2 separate regions of the Homo sapiens genome follow, and region 1 is linked to region 2. The links are contacts of gene promoters, found by promoter capture Hi-C in human tissues and cell types (Jung and others, 2019). All regions are on one chromosome and are shown on one strand. The core of a region is centred on a gene start or on the middle of the fragment in contact, and the rest is flanking DNA. Distances in the headings are between cores, read along the strand shown. Region 1 overlaps ZNF568 (zinc finger protein 568). Region 2 holds the start of ZNF850 (zinc finger protein 850).

Region 1 (5,890 bases), core at 2,304-4,803, 160 kb before region 2:
TATGACCACATAAAAACTTGTACATCAATGTTCTTATCAGCATTATTCATAATAGCCTAAAAGGGGAAATGAATCAAATTTCCATTAATCAATGAATAAAGAAAATGTGGTATATCCCTACAAGAGAATATTATTCAGAAATAAAAAGTACTCGTACAAGCTACAAAATGCATGAAACTTGAAAACATAATGCTAAGCGAAAGGCAACACAAAGGATAACAGTTTATCATATGACTCAATTTACATTAAATGTCCAAAATAGGCAAATCCATAGAGCTAGAAATCATTTATTCTTGCCTACATCAGAGCCTTAAGGGAAAACAGGAAGTGAAAGCTAACAGGTAAAGGGTTTCTTTTCAGGGTGATGAAAATGTTCTAACATTGATTATGGTGATGGTTGCACAACTCTGTGAATACACTAAAAACCACTCACTTGTATACTTTAAATGGGCTAATTTTATAGTATGTGACTTATATGTTAATAAAGTTTTTTTAAGTTATAAGACTATATTTCAATATGTTTAAAGTTTAAAAAATCTCAGTGAAGCTGGGAATAGTAGCTCACACCTATAATCGTAGCACTTTGGGAGGCTGAGGCAGGAGGACTGCTTGAGGCCAGGAGTTCGAGAACAGCCTTGGTAACATAGTGAGACTCCATCTCTACGAAAAATAAAAAATAAAAAAATTAGCCAGGCATGATGGCACATGCCTATCATCTAGCTACTCGGGAGGCTGAGGCGGGAGGATCACCTGAGCCAAGTTCATGCCACTGTACTCCAGCCTGGGCAACACAGCAAGTCCTGGTCTCAAAAACAAACTCAACAAAAAATAATTCCATTAGAAAATATTACTGTGATAAATTGATTATTCAGCGAGTCTTCACTTCCTGCCTGTACTAATGTCCCATCTACTAATGTGGGCCTTGTCTGAGCCCTTTGTTGGGGCAAAAGGAATGTCAGTAAACATGATGTGAGCAAAGGCCTGAAATTTGCTTACACCCTTTACCTTGGCTCATGTGCTCCAGTGAGACAGCAAATGAAGACCTTGGCCCAGGAAGCTGTGCCATTTCAGCTGAAACTCAGAATGAATATATGCAGAGCAGACACAAGCCCACTGTGGAGCCTAAGCCAAGGCCAGCTGATCTGCAGCCCAAAGCAGAGATGCCCACATAGTTAACCTGCAGACCCCAAGGATAAGAATGAACGCCTGTTTTCTATTCACAAAAGCAGCAGAAAGGCTGAACAGACATGTGACTGACACATTTCTGACTGAAAAAAAATGCTGAAATACTAAACTTTCAAAACGGAGCTGGGTTTAGATATTTTTTACCAGTTAATAGGCTGTGGTATCCAATGTCATGGGTTCAAACTCTGGCTTCAAAATTTACTAATTGTGTTACCTTGACAAATAGCCAAACTTGAGTCTCAGTTTCCTCATCTATAAAGTGGAATTCTCCTTAAAGGGTTGATGTGAAGACTAAATAACACAGTAAATGTGACTCAGAACAGAGCTTGACACAATAATCAACTGATGAATGTTTCAGAAATAGATAATCCCTCTGGAATATACACCACAACAAAGATAGGGGAAAACTACAAAAAGAGAAAACATTTTTTAAATTAGTGCTAACAAATCAGCACAAAAACATTTTCCCACCAACTCTAGTAACTTAGCATAAATCTCATATAAAAAGATTGCACCCCTGGCCAGGCGCGGTGGCTCATGCTTGTAATCCCAGCACTTTGGGAGGCCGAGGCGGGCGGATCACGAGGTCAGGAGATCGAGACCATCCTGGCTAACATGGTGAAACCCCATCTCTACTAAAGATACAAAAAATTAGCCGGGTGTGGTGGCGAGCGTCTGTAGTCCCAGCGACTCGGGAGGCTGAGGCAGGAGAATGGCGTGAACCTGGGAGGCGGAGCTTGCAGTCAGCCAAGATTGTGCCATTGCACTCCAGCCTGGGCGACAGAGCGAGACTCTGTCTCAAAAAAAAAAAAAAGAAATTGCATCCCTGACAAAAGCCATAAGTAACAAAATACCAAGAAGTAAAATATGCTTTAATTTTTGACTGTATAAAATGATGAGTCAGTCTTTACAATAGGGTCTATTTTCCCAAGATGTTGATTCTCTTCACATACAAATGTTAAGAAATTCAGTATTAATAGCAAGAAACATAGGGGTTCGAACCTTAAAAAACATAAATTCACAGTTCATGTCATTAAGTTTTATTCCTTCTCCTGTCAAACAGAACCAAAAAAAAAAAAAAACATGAACACGCTTCTGCCCCTGGCAAGAGGCAATAATATTTCCAATGTTCTTGCTGGTACCACAGCACCTTCCTCTCCTTCACTTTTTTTTTTCTTTGAAACTGGGTCTCGCTCTGTCACCTAAGCTGGAGCAGTGCCACAATCATAGCTCACTGAAGACTCACTGCTGAGCTCAAGCAATCCTCCTGCCTCAGCCTCCTGAGTAGCTGGGACTACACATGTGAGCCACCAAACCTAGCTAATTTTTTTTTTTTTTTTTTTGAGACGGAGTCTTGCTCTGTCGCCCAGGCTGGAGTGCAATGGTGCGATCTCGGCTCACTGCAACCTCTGCCTCCTGGGTACAAGTGATTCTCCTGCCTCAGCCTCCCAAGTAGCTGGGACTACAGGTGTGTACGACCACACCCGGCTAATTTTTTGTATTTTTAGTAGAAACGGGGTTTCACCATGTCAGCCAGAATGCTCTCGATCTTCTGACCTCATGATTCACCCGCCTCAGCCTCCCAAAGTGCTGGGATTACAGGCGTGAGCCACCACGCCTGGCCACACCCAGCTAATTTTTTAAAATTTTTTGTAAAGACTGGGTCTTGCTGTATTGATCCAGCTGGTCTCAAACTCCTGGCCTCAAGTGATCCTCCAGCTGTGGCCTCCTAAAATGCTGGGATTACAGGTGTGAGCCACCATGCCTCGCTTTCTTCACTTTTAAGATACATAATAGAATATAATTGTTTAAAATAACAAAGTTTACAGTGAGGGAATAAAGATAACTACAAGTCAGTTCTGGGTGTATATGTTGACTGGCAACTTTTTATAAAATTTTTTTTTCCCTAAAGTTATGTAAGCATTAAACAAATATTCTTCTTTTAAAAACTTAGAGCATGGCACATGACATTCTTTTATACTTTTCCTGGCCATTCTGCATGTTTTTATTTTTCAAATGTATTCTAGACTCGGCTCAAATAAACTTGTCTAATTCTAAGAAAAATAATTTAGAATTGTTATTGAGATTCTGATCAATCTATGTAGGTTAAAGACAATTTATATTAATTTAATAATGATGGCTCTTATCCAAAAAAGGGTATTTAAAAAATTTGTTCAAATCCTCTATCTCAGTAATAATTTGAAGGTTTCATTCTCCCATGTACACCACATACATTTTATTTTTTTCTTTCGGGTTTTTTTCTAGTCTGAGCATCATTCTTCCATTTCATTTTTGATGGTGTGGTTTATAGAGAAAAATGGTATTGATTTTTGTATATTAATTTTGTGTCCATATTTCAATCATTCTTGTGTTTCTCTTCTGTTGCCTAAAAACATAATTGTATCACTTAGATATCATAATTTTGAATGCACCATCCTGCTTTTTACTTCATTTCCCTCCCCTTACTTATGTCTAGGCATACAAAATCGTAGTAGTAGCACTGGCAAGCTGGTTGTGTTCCTGACTAGTAGGAAAGTGCCTAATTTTTACAAGTAAACATGGTACTAGCTTGTAGCTTATTATCTGCACATATATATGTGTTGTATGCGTGTGAATAATTTCTTAAAATATCATAAGAAAATGTTCTTTTACTTTTACTTTATAAATAGGTCCTTTTGAAATCACAGGTTCTGAGTTAAAAAAATTTTCAGCTCTATAGATCTGATTGTTTTTCTCTTGAATATAATAATTTATATTAATAGATTCCCTTAAATGGAAACATCTTTAATTGTGACAGAAAATATCTTTCGGGACAGGTGCAATGGCTCATGCCTGCAATCCTAGTACTTTGGGAGGCTGAGGCAGGTGGATCACTTGAGGTCAGAATCACTTGAGGTCAGCCTGGCCAACATGGCGAAACCCTATCTCTACTAAAAATGCAAAAACTTAGCCAGGCATGGTGGTGTACCCCTGTAATCCCAGCTGCTTGGGAGGCTGAGGCATGAGAATCACTTAAACCCGGGAGGTGGAGGTTGCAGTGAGCCAAGATCGTGTCACTGCACTCAAGCCTGGGCAACAAAGCAAGACTTCATCACCAAAAAAAAAAAAAAAAAAAAAAAAAAAATATATATATATATATAATATATATATATATATATATATATATACACACACACACACACATATATCTTTATATATATATATATTTATATATTTTTTATATATATGTATTTTTTGCTTAATTCTTCTCCAACTAGTTGTGCAATTCAATGGAAATCCCCAATAGGATTTCTTCCTAGAACTAGATAAACTAATTCTAAAATTCAAATGGAAGCCCAGAGGTCCCAAAGTAGCTGAAAAATTTTTGAAAAACTAAGAATAATGTGTGTGCATAAAGAAGTGGTGAAATCATTGCCCATATAAAGTAATTGTAATTAAACCAATGTAAAACACACACACACAAAGTACAGTACTGATATAAATGTAGACAAATAGATTACAGAAAAAGTAAAAGCCTAGAAACCATCATGTATGTATACAGTAAAGGTGGCATCACAAAGGAAAGATCTACTTAATAAACGGTGTTGGAACAACTGGTCTTCTACATGCAAAGATAATTCTACTAATAGAATTATCAGTAAATTCCTATCTCAAACCAATTACAATATTATAATCCAGTTGGATTAAAGACTAAATATGGAAAACAATGCTTTGAACAGAGATTATCTCTATGATCTAATATTAATTAGGAAAGATATCTTAGAAAAGATTAACATTGGCAACTCATGAGAAAAGACTACTAAATATTAATAGTTGCATATTTTGACTGAATTCTATTATGTATACATATTTATCATACACTAAATGTAACTATCCAAACTTCAATGTCTATACAACAAAAAATAAATAACATAAAAATGACAGATTGGGAGAAGGTAGCTGCATAAATCCTAAGTCCTAATACTGAAATAGACATTCTTAAAATATTCTAATTTCGAATACAGAAAAAACTATTATTACAAAATAGACAAACAATATGAATGGGTAATTGGCTTTTGTATTTCTTCACTCATAATGAGCCTCCATCTGTACAGTATCGTAGAGTGTGGGCCCTAGAGTCAGACTGTATGGATTTGAATCCTGGGTTTATGACACATTGATGCACGATGTTATGTAAGCTTAACCTCTGTGCTTCATTTCCCTTATCTTAAAAAATTTAAATAATATGTACTTCATAGACGTCTGATAATAATTACATGAAATAAGCTATGTAAAGCACAATACATCTGGCACATAGTAAGAACTCAATAAAGCTGTAACAGTTGGTTCTCCATATCTGTGGGTTCAATATCCATGGATTCAACCAATGGCAGACCAAAAATATTTGAGAAAAAAATAACAATGCCTATCATTTATGGGGTACTTGTTACATGTATTTAACCCTCCCAACATTCCTGTGGGATAAATACCATTATCATCCCCATTTATAGACTTACAGATGATGTAACTGAGTCACAAAAAGATTAAGAAACTTGTCCACAGTCATGCACTTCATAAGTCACTGAGCCAAGATTTAAACTCAAGCCTGTCGAGGGCCAGAGAGGTTTGCTAGGGCCACCGCGCCAACAGAAGTAACTGGATGAGCCATATGATCATATGGTCAAAAGAAGTATGTGTGTATATTTCATGATGTGAAAGACATAAG
Region 2 (5,972 bases), core at 397-2,896:
TTTTGAGGGGTGCCCATCTACTTTATGTAAGAAGCTATAAACTACACTTCTTTCAGTTTCTGCTTAATCCTTGCTCAAACAAGGAATAATTTCTTATTCCAAAGTAGACATTGGTACATCTTTTACTAGGTACATAATTTGGGATGAAGTCTGATAAAGCTCCTTAGAAGTACTTACAGTACACCCTCACAAGGGTGTACCATCTACCCATGGTTTAAACAGAAATTAAAATTCTACCTTCGTGGAAAAATTTGCCAAGTTTTAATGGATTCAGTGCTCATTAAAAACTTTTAGCCTGTCTTGATCTTTAACATAATTATTGGTGTGAAACAATGGCTTCTGTGGAAAATTAAAGTTTTAGTGGTTTGCTATTTGTGAAATACAGGCTTTTTCATGTATCATATTAGCATATAAGCTGGCTTAATCATTAGTACTGATCTTCAAGTTACTAAGACACCAGATATTTGTTACTTTGTAATTTGAGTTTTTAAAAAAATTCCGAAATTGGCTTTTCGATGTGTGAAAAGGACTACTTATTAGATGCTTGTTTTTAAATTTACATTCAATTAATTAAAGCTAGACTCTTTATATTCTTAGGCTTGGTATACTATTTGTATGTTTTGTAGTAAGTGTATAAAAATAATACCTTTGACTTTGTATAAAAAAAATCTTTCTTGCTTTAAAAGCCATGTTGGATTTGCATTCTAGACCGTAATAAATATAACTACTTTAACATAAAAATCTATTTATGTTGTTTATCAGATATTAGGGGTTTTTTTCCCTCTCCTGTCAACCTCCAAATAAAATCGATGCTCCAGAATGATGCCCTCTTATCATAATTTTACAAATACCTGGCTCCAAGGTTACTACCTGATACAAAAATACAATGCTGGTCTCCCAAACAGGCAACTCACATTGACACTCACACAGCTTCCACTCACACCTGCGATCACAAGGCAGCATCTTCGGGCCCTCGTCGGCCACGATCCGCTCCCAGAGAGCATTCGCGCACAATCTTATCCCATCCACGATTTTGATTCCTTTTCTCCCACTTCTTCAACCCTATCCGGGACGAGACCATCAGGTCCCACCTCCACCTTCACCTTCATTTTCCGCGCAATGCAGACTGAGCCCTGGACTCACCCATATACAGATTGAATTGTCCGGTCAGTGTTTCATCCCCTCTGCATTCTGAGGGCGAGTTAGCATCTGGGTGCATGAGTTCCAAACTAACAGCCAGGACCAGGCTTGGAGCCAAGAATCCTTTGGCTCGCATCGTGGCTGGGTTGACCGCTTTTCTGCCCTGGACTACATTTCCCATCGGTTCTACCGTTCGGGGCTACTTCCGCCGAGAACCGGAAGCACGTTTTCCTGTGTCTTACCCCAGATAACAGAGCTGCCAGGGATAATCAGGCCTGACCACTCTAGCGGGCGAGCCGGCCCCATAGCGAGCCGCTCGGCATGAGGGCTCTGCGATCCTCGTTGGAGAGGAGCGGTAAAAGGAAACAAGCCAGGCTTGGAAATGAGAGGCATAGGGAAGCCCGCAGTCGGGCTCTGGACTACATTTCCCAGAGGATCCCGCAGGCCGACGCCACGTCTCGCGAGATTTTGGCTTCCTCTTAGCCAGGTGGCGGGACCGTTTGCTGTGCCGATTTAGCTGCCGCCGCGCCTTGGAGTCCTGAGGAACTTGGCTAGGCTGGCCCCGAGCGGAACCAGAGAATGCTGAGGGTGAGGAATCCGGCTCCGGTCCTTTTGTGTGTGGAGGGCTGAGGAGAGGAGTTTGCGTGTGTGATCGCGATGGCTGCCGTGGGTCTCCGTGGTCTGTGACTGTGGCTGTGTGGTGCTGACTCTGGGTGATCAGGTGGGCGCTTGTGACTGTGCGCGCCCGGAGTGGGTGTGTGTGTCCTGGACGACCCTCGTTGTGCGTGCGGATGTGAAGAACCGGTGACTGTGTGGTTGGACTGCGTGTCCCGGGGTGGGTGTGTGACTTTGCGTGTCTGTGCAGTACCTTGTGTGCGTGAGTTGCAGGTCTGTGGCTGTGCAAGTGCAACTTGTGTGGCCCCTTGGTGTATGTGAGAGAGGAGAGTGTGATTGGCTGTGAGGCAGTGGGTAAGTGGATATGCGGAGGCATGTGTGCGATTGGGACTTTGTGTGTCCCCTTGAGAGAAAAAACTCTTTAGGCAGTTAGGGTGGGACCTTGGTAAAAGTCCTTTAAACAGAGAAACAGCCTGAAAAATCAGGCTGCAGGCATACATAAGGAAAACTCCACAGGGGGGTTGTCCTGAAGACATTCCTCAGCTGCACTGATAAGGGACCGAGGCCCAACATAGAAACGCCTTTGTCCTTTGTGTGACCAGCGGGCTTCCACGAAATAGTCGCTTCTTTTGTGGGCATGTACACGGTGGGCTCTGTTAGATTTTGAAGGGAAGGCGAGGGTTAAAGAAAGAGAGAGAGTTGGCGGCTCTATGGCGGGGACCAACTAAATGCCAGAGCCCACTGCCGCTTCCAGGCTGGGGTAATTACAGGCCTGGGCAGGAGGGGTCTGGGCGGTATGGCTTGTTGCCTGGGAGAAAGTTGATAAGGATGTTTCTTGGGCTTTTGCCCAGCAGGATGTGATAAGGAAGTCAGGCGGTTGGGAAGGATGTTTCGCACAGCCCAAACCCGGGTGGAATGTTTCCCTCTGACCAGGGTCTGTGAAATGGTGGGGGCTTACGAAACGGTGCAGCTTGGACTAACAGGTTCCGGCGGCCACTTTCCTTTTTTGGACATGCTTTAGACTGTGAGCGCGGCCTCTTTGAATCATAACTTCACCCCCTCATTGGTCCCGGGCCAAGCTTTCACTTCAGCCCCTGATTGGTCCCGGGCCAAACTTTCACTTCAGCTCCTGATTGGTCCCGGCCCAAACTTTCACTTCAGCTCCTGATTGGTCCCGGGCCAAACTTTCACTTCAGCCCCTAATTGGTCCCGGGCCAAACTTTCACTTCAGCTCCTGATTGGTCCCGGGCCAAACTTTCACTTCAGCCCCTGATTGGTCCCGGGCCAAACTTTCACTTCAGCCCCTGATTGGTCCTGGGCCAAACTTTCACTTCAGCCTGGGATTGGTCCCGGGCTAAGGTCCCAGGGCCAAGCTGGGTAGTGCTTTCTTCAAGACAGCCCACGTTCCTCCCCTTCCCAGTTAATAAACCCCCCCAGATTCAGCCTCCTAGTTGGCAACCCTCTTTTGGGTCCCTCCGCTGGGGAGAGCTTTCTTCTTTTGCTTATTAAACTTCCGCTCCGACCTCATCCTTTGTGTCCCTGTTCCTTAATTTTCTTGGCCGTGAGAGAAAGAAGGCAAAAACAAGAGCCTTTACCCTAACAACTCAATTGCTGCAGAGATTAGTGCATATTCTATGTGGCATCACACGCCATAGCCCTGGGATTGAAAGCCATGCAGTTTATGGGATGGTGTTAATCTCAGTCCAAATAAGTGATAAGATCTTTCACTTTGCTATATTTTAGGGGTAGGAATGAGATTGGGGGCTCGATCAATAGTTTGTACCAATAACACCAGGGATTTGCCCAGTCATCTGTGAGTAAATGCTTGGGCCAGTTTCCATGTCTGTATTGAATTAAATACTCATACGGTTCTGTGATTTTCTCAAATACAGATTTGGTCTTTGTCCCTATTTCCTCGCATACAACTCCTAAAGTCCTTGGAATCTCTTAAGTGCTGGCTTTTTTTTTTTTTTTTTTTTTTTTTTTTTTTTTTTGATGGAGTCTCTCTCTGTCGCCCAGACTGAAGTGCAGTGGCGCAATCTCCAGTCACTGCAACCTCTGCCTCCCGGGTTCAAGCAGTTCTTCTGCCGCAGCCTCCCGAGTAGCTGGAACTACAGGCACGCGCCACCACGCCCGGCTAATTTTTGTATTTGTTTTTTTTAGTAGAGACGGGGTTTCACCATACTGGCCAGTCTGGTCGCGAACTCCTGACCTCAGGTGATCTGCCTGCCTCGGCCTCCCAAAGTGTTGGGATTACCGGCGTGAGCCACTGCACCCAGCCTTTGGCTTTTTGTATGTTAGTGATTGACCGAAAGCTTCAGGATGGGGGCTGGTCATCAGAAAGACCAAGGCAGGATTAGAGGGTTGAGACTTTGAGCCCCTACCCTCCCACCCCTGGGGAGTGGAGGGGACTGAGGATTAAGTTGATGGCAAGTAGCCAGTGGTTTAATCAATCATGCCTATGTAATGAAGCCTCCTTACAAACCCAAAAGGGGTGGATTCAGAGAGCTTCCAGAGAGCTGAACACATGGTGGTTCCTGGAGGGTCGTGCCTAGGGAGGGCATGGAGGCTCTGTGCCCCTTGCCCCATACCTCGCCCTAGGCATCTCTTCATCTGTATCCTTTGGAATATCCTTATAATCAGCCAGTAAATGTGTTTCCCTGAGGTCTGTGAGCCATTTTATTTTAGCAAATTAATCGAACCCAAAGAGGGGGTCGTAGGAATCCCAAATTGAACCCGTCAGTCAGAAGTTGTAGAGGCTGGGACTTGTGACTGGTGTCTGAAAGGGGACCAGTTTTGGGGGCTGAGCCCTTAGCCTGTGGGATGACAGTATCTCATGGTAGATAGTGTCAGAATCGAATTGGTGGACACCCAGCTGGTGTCTGCTGCAGAACTGATTCCTTGCTTGCTGATGGGGAGAAATCTCCTTGGATTTTGAGGCCACAGAAGTCTTCTGGTTTGATTGTTGTGGTTTTGTTGTGAAGCAGAGGAAGAACATAGTTTGAGTTTTTTCCAAATGGGTTCACATTGGGGGTTCTCAACCTCGAATCCATCAACTCCATCGCTGAATTTTTATTTATTTATTTATTTTTATTTTTGAGGTAGGGTCTCACTCTGTCTCCCAGGCTGGAGTGCAGTGGCACGATCTCGGCTCATTGCAGCCTTGATTTCCTGTGCTCAAGTGATCCTCCTACCTCAGCCTACCAAGTAAGCTGAAACCAGAGGCACACACCAGCACTCTGGCATAATTACAAATAATTTTCACTAGGAAAGACTCACTAGGTTGCCTAGGCTGGTCTTGAACTCCTGAGTTCAAGTGATCCTCCTACCTCTGCCTCCAAAGTGCTAGGATTACAGGCCTGAGCTGCCTCACCTATCACTGATTTTCTTTTTCTTTCTTTCTTTCTTTCTTTCTTTCTTTTTTTTTTTTTTTTTTGAGACAGTCTTACTCTGCCTTGCCCAGGCTGGACTGCAGTGGCACAATCTCAGCTCACTGCAGCCTCCGCCTGCCGGGTTCAAGTGAGTCTTCCTGTCTCAGCCTCCTGAGTAGCTGGGATTACAGGTGCCCGCAACCACACCCAACCAATTTTTGTATTTGTAGTAGAGACAGGGTTTCACCATGTTGGCCAGGCTGGTCATGAACTCCTGATCTCAAGTGATTCACCCACCTCTGCCTCCCAAAGTGCTGGGATTACAGGTGTGAGCCACCACACCCGGCCTTTTTTTTTTTTTTTTAAAGACAGGGTCTCACTCTGTTACCCAGACTGGAGTGCAGTGGCAGGATCATGGCATACTGCAGCCTTGACCTCCAGGGCTGAAGGGATCCTCCCACTTCAGCCTCCCAAGGAGCTGGGTTACAGGCATATGGCACCATGCTGGGCTAATATTTGTATTGTTTGCACAGACAGGGTTTTGCCATGTTGCCCAGTCTGGTCTCGAACTCCTGAGCTCCAGCAATCTTCCAACCTGAGCCTCCCAAAGTGCTGGGATTACAGGGAAGAGCCACCACACCTGGCCTATCACTGCATTTTTAAAGGGAAGGAGGACTATAGTGAGATTCACTAAGGATGACAGAAAAGGTAGAACCCTAGATAGATTTAAAGACAGAGATTACAATATACTTGAGATGAAAATATCCAAATTTAGCTTTCATAGATAGGGAAATTTGAAGTACATCAGACTATAAGGTGGCATTTTGTACAACTAATTAAAACTAT

The links. The method cuts DNA at HindIII sites, captures the fragments that hold promoters and counts their contacts. A contact is called where the count stands out against the background at its distance.
Region 1: a fragment that was not itself captured here is called in contact with the fragment with the promoter of ZNF850 in region 2 in 1 of the 25 tissues and cell types used here (pancreas).

Annotation. Positions count from the first base shown.
Region 1 is chr19:36,926,323-36,932,212 of GRCh38, reverse strand. All of the region lies in intron 4 of ZNF568 (zinc finger protein 568), which reads right to left. Among named protein-coding and RNA genes, the nearest start is that of ZNF568, 13 kb to the right of the region's middle. The HindIII fragment of the contact is 6,601 bases long and covers 253-5,890 here.
Region 2 is chr19:36,768,481-36,774,452 of GRCh38, reverse strand. ZNF850 (zinc finger protein 850) reads left to right here and starts at 1,646. Exons shown (of 5, transcript NM_001193552.2): 1 at 1,646-1,728. It overlaps LOC728485 (a long non-coding RNA gene), which reads right to left and starts at 1,300. Exons shown (of 2, transcript NR_164117.1): 1 at 944-1,300. RefSeq lists enhancers at 1,386-1,545, 1,686-1,825 and a silencer at 1,812-2,106. The HindIII fragment of the contact is 7,262 bases long and covers 1-3,452 here.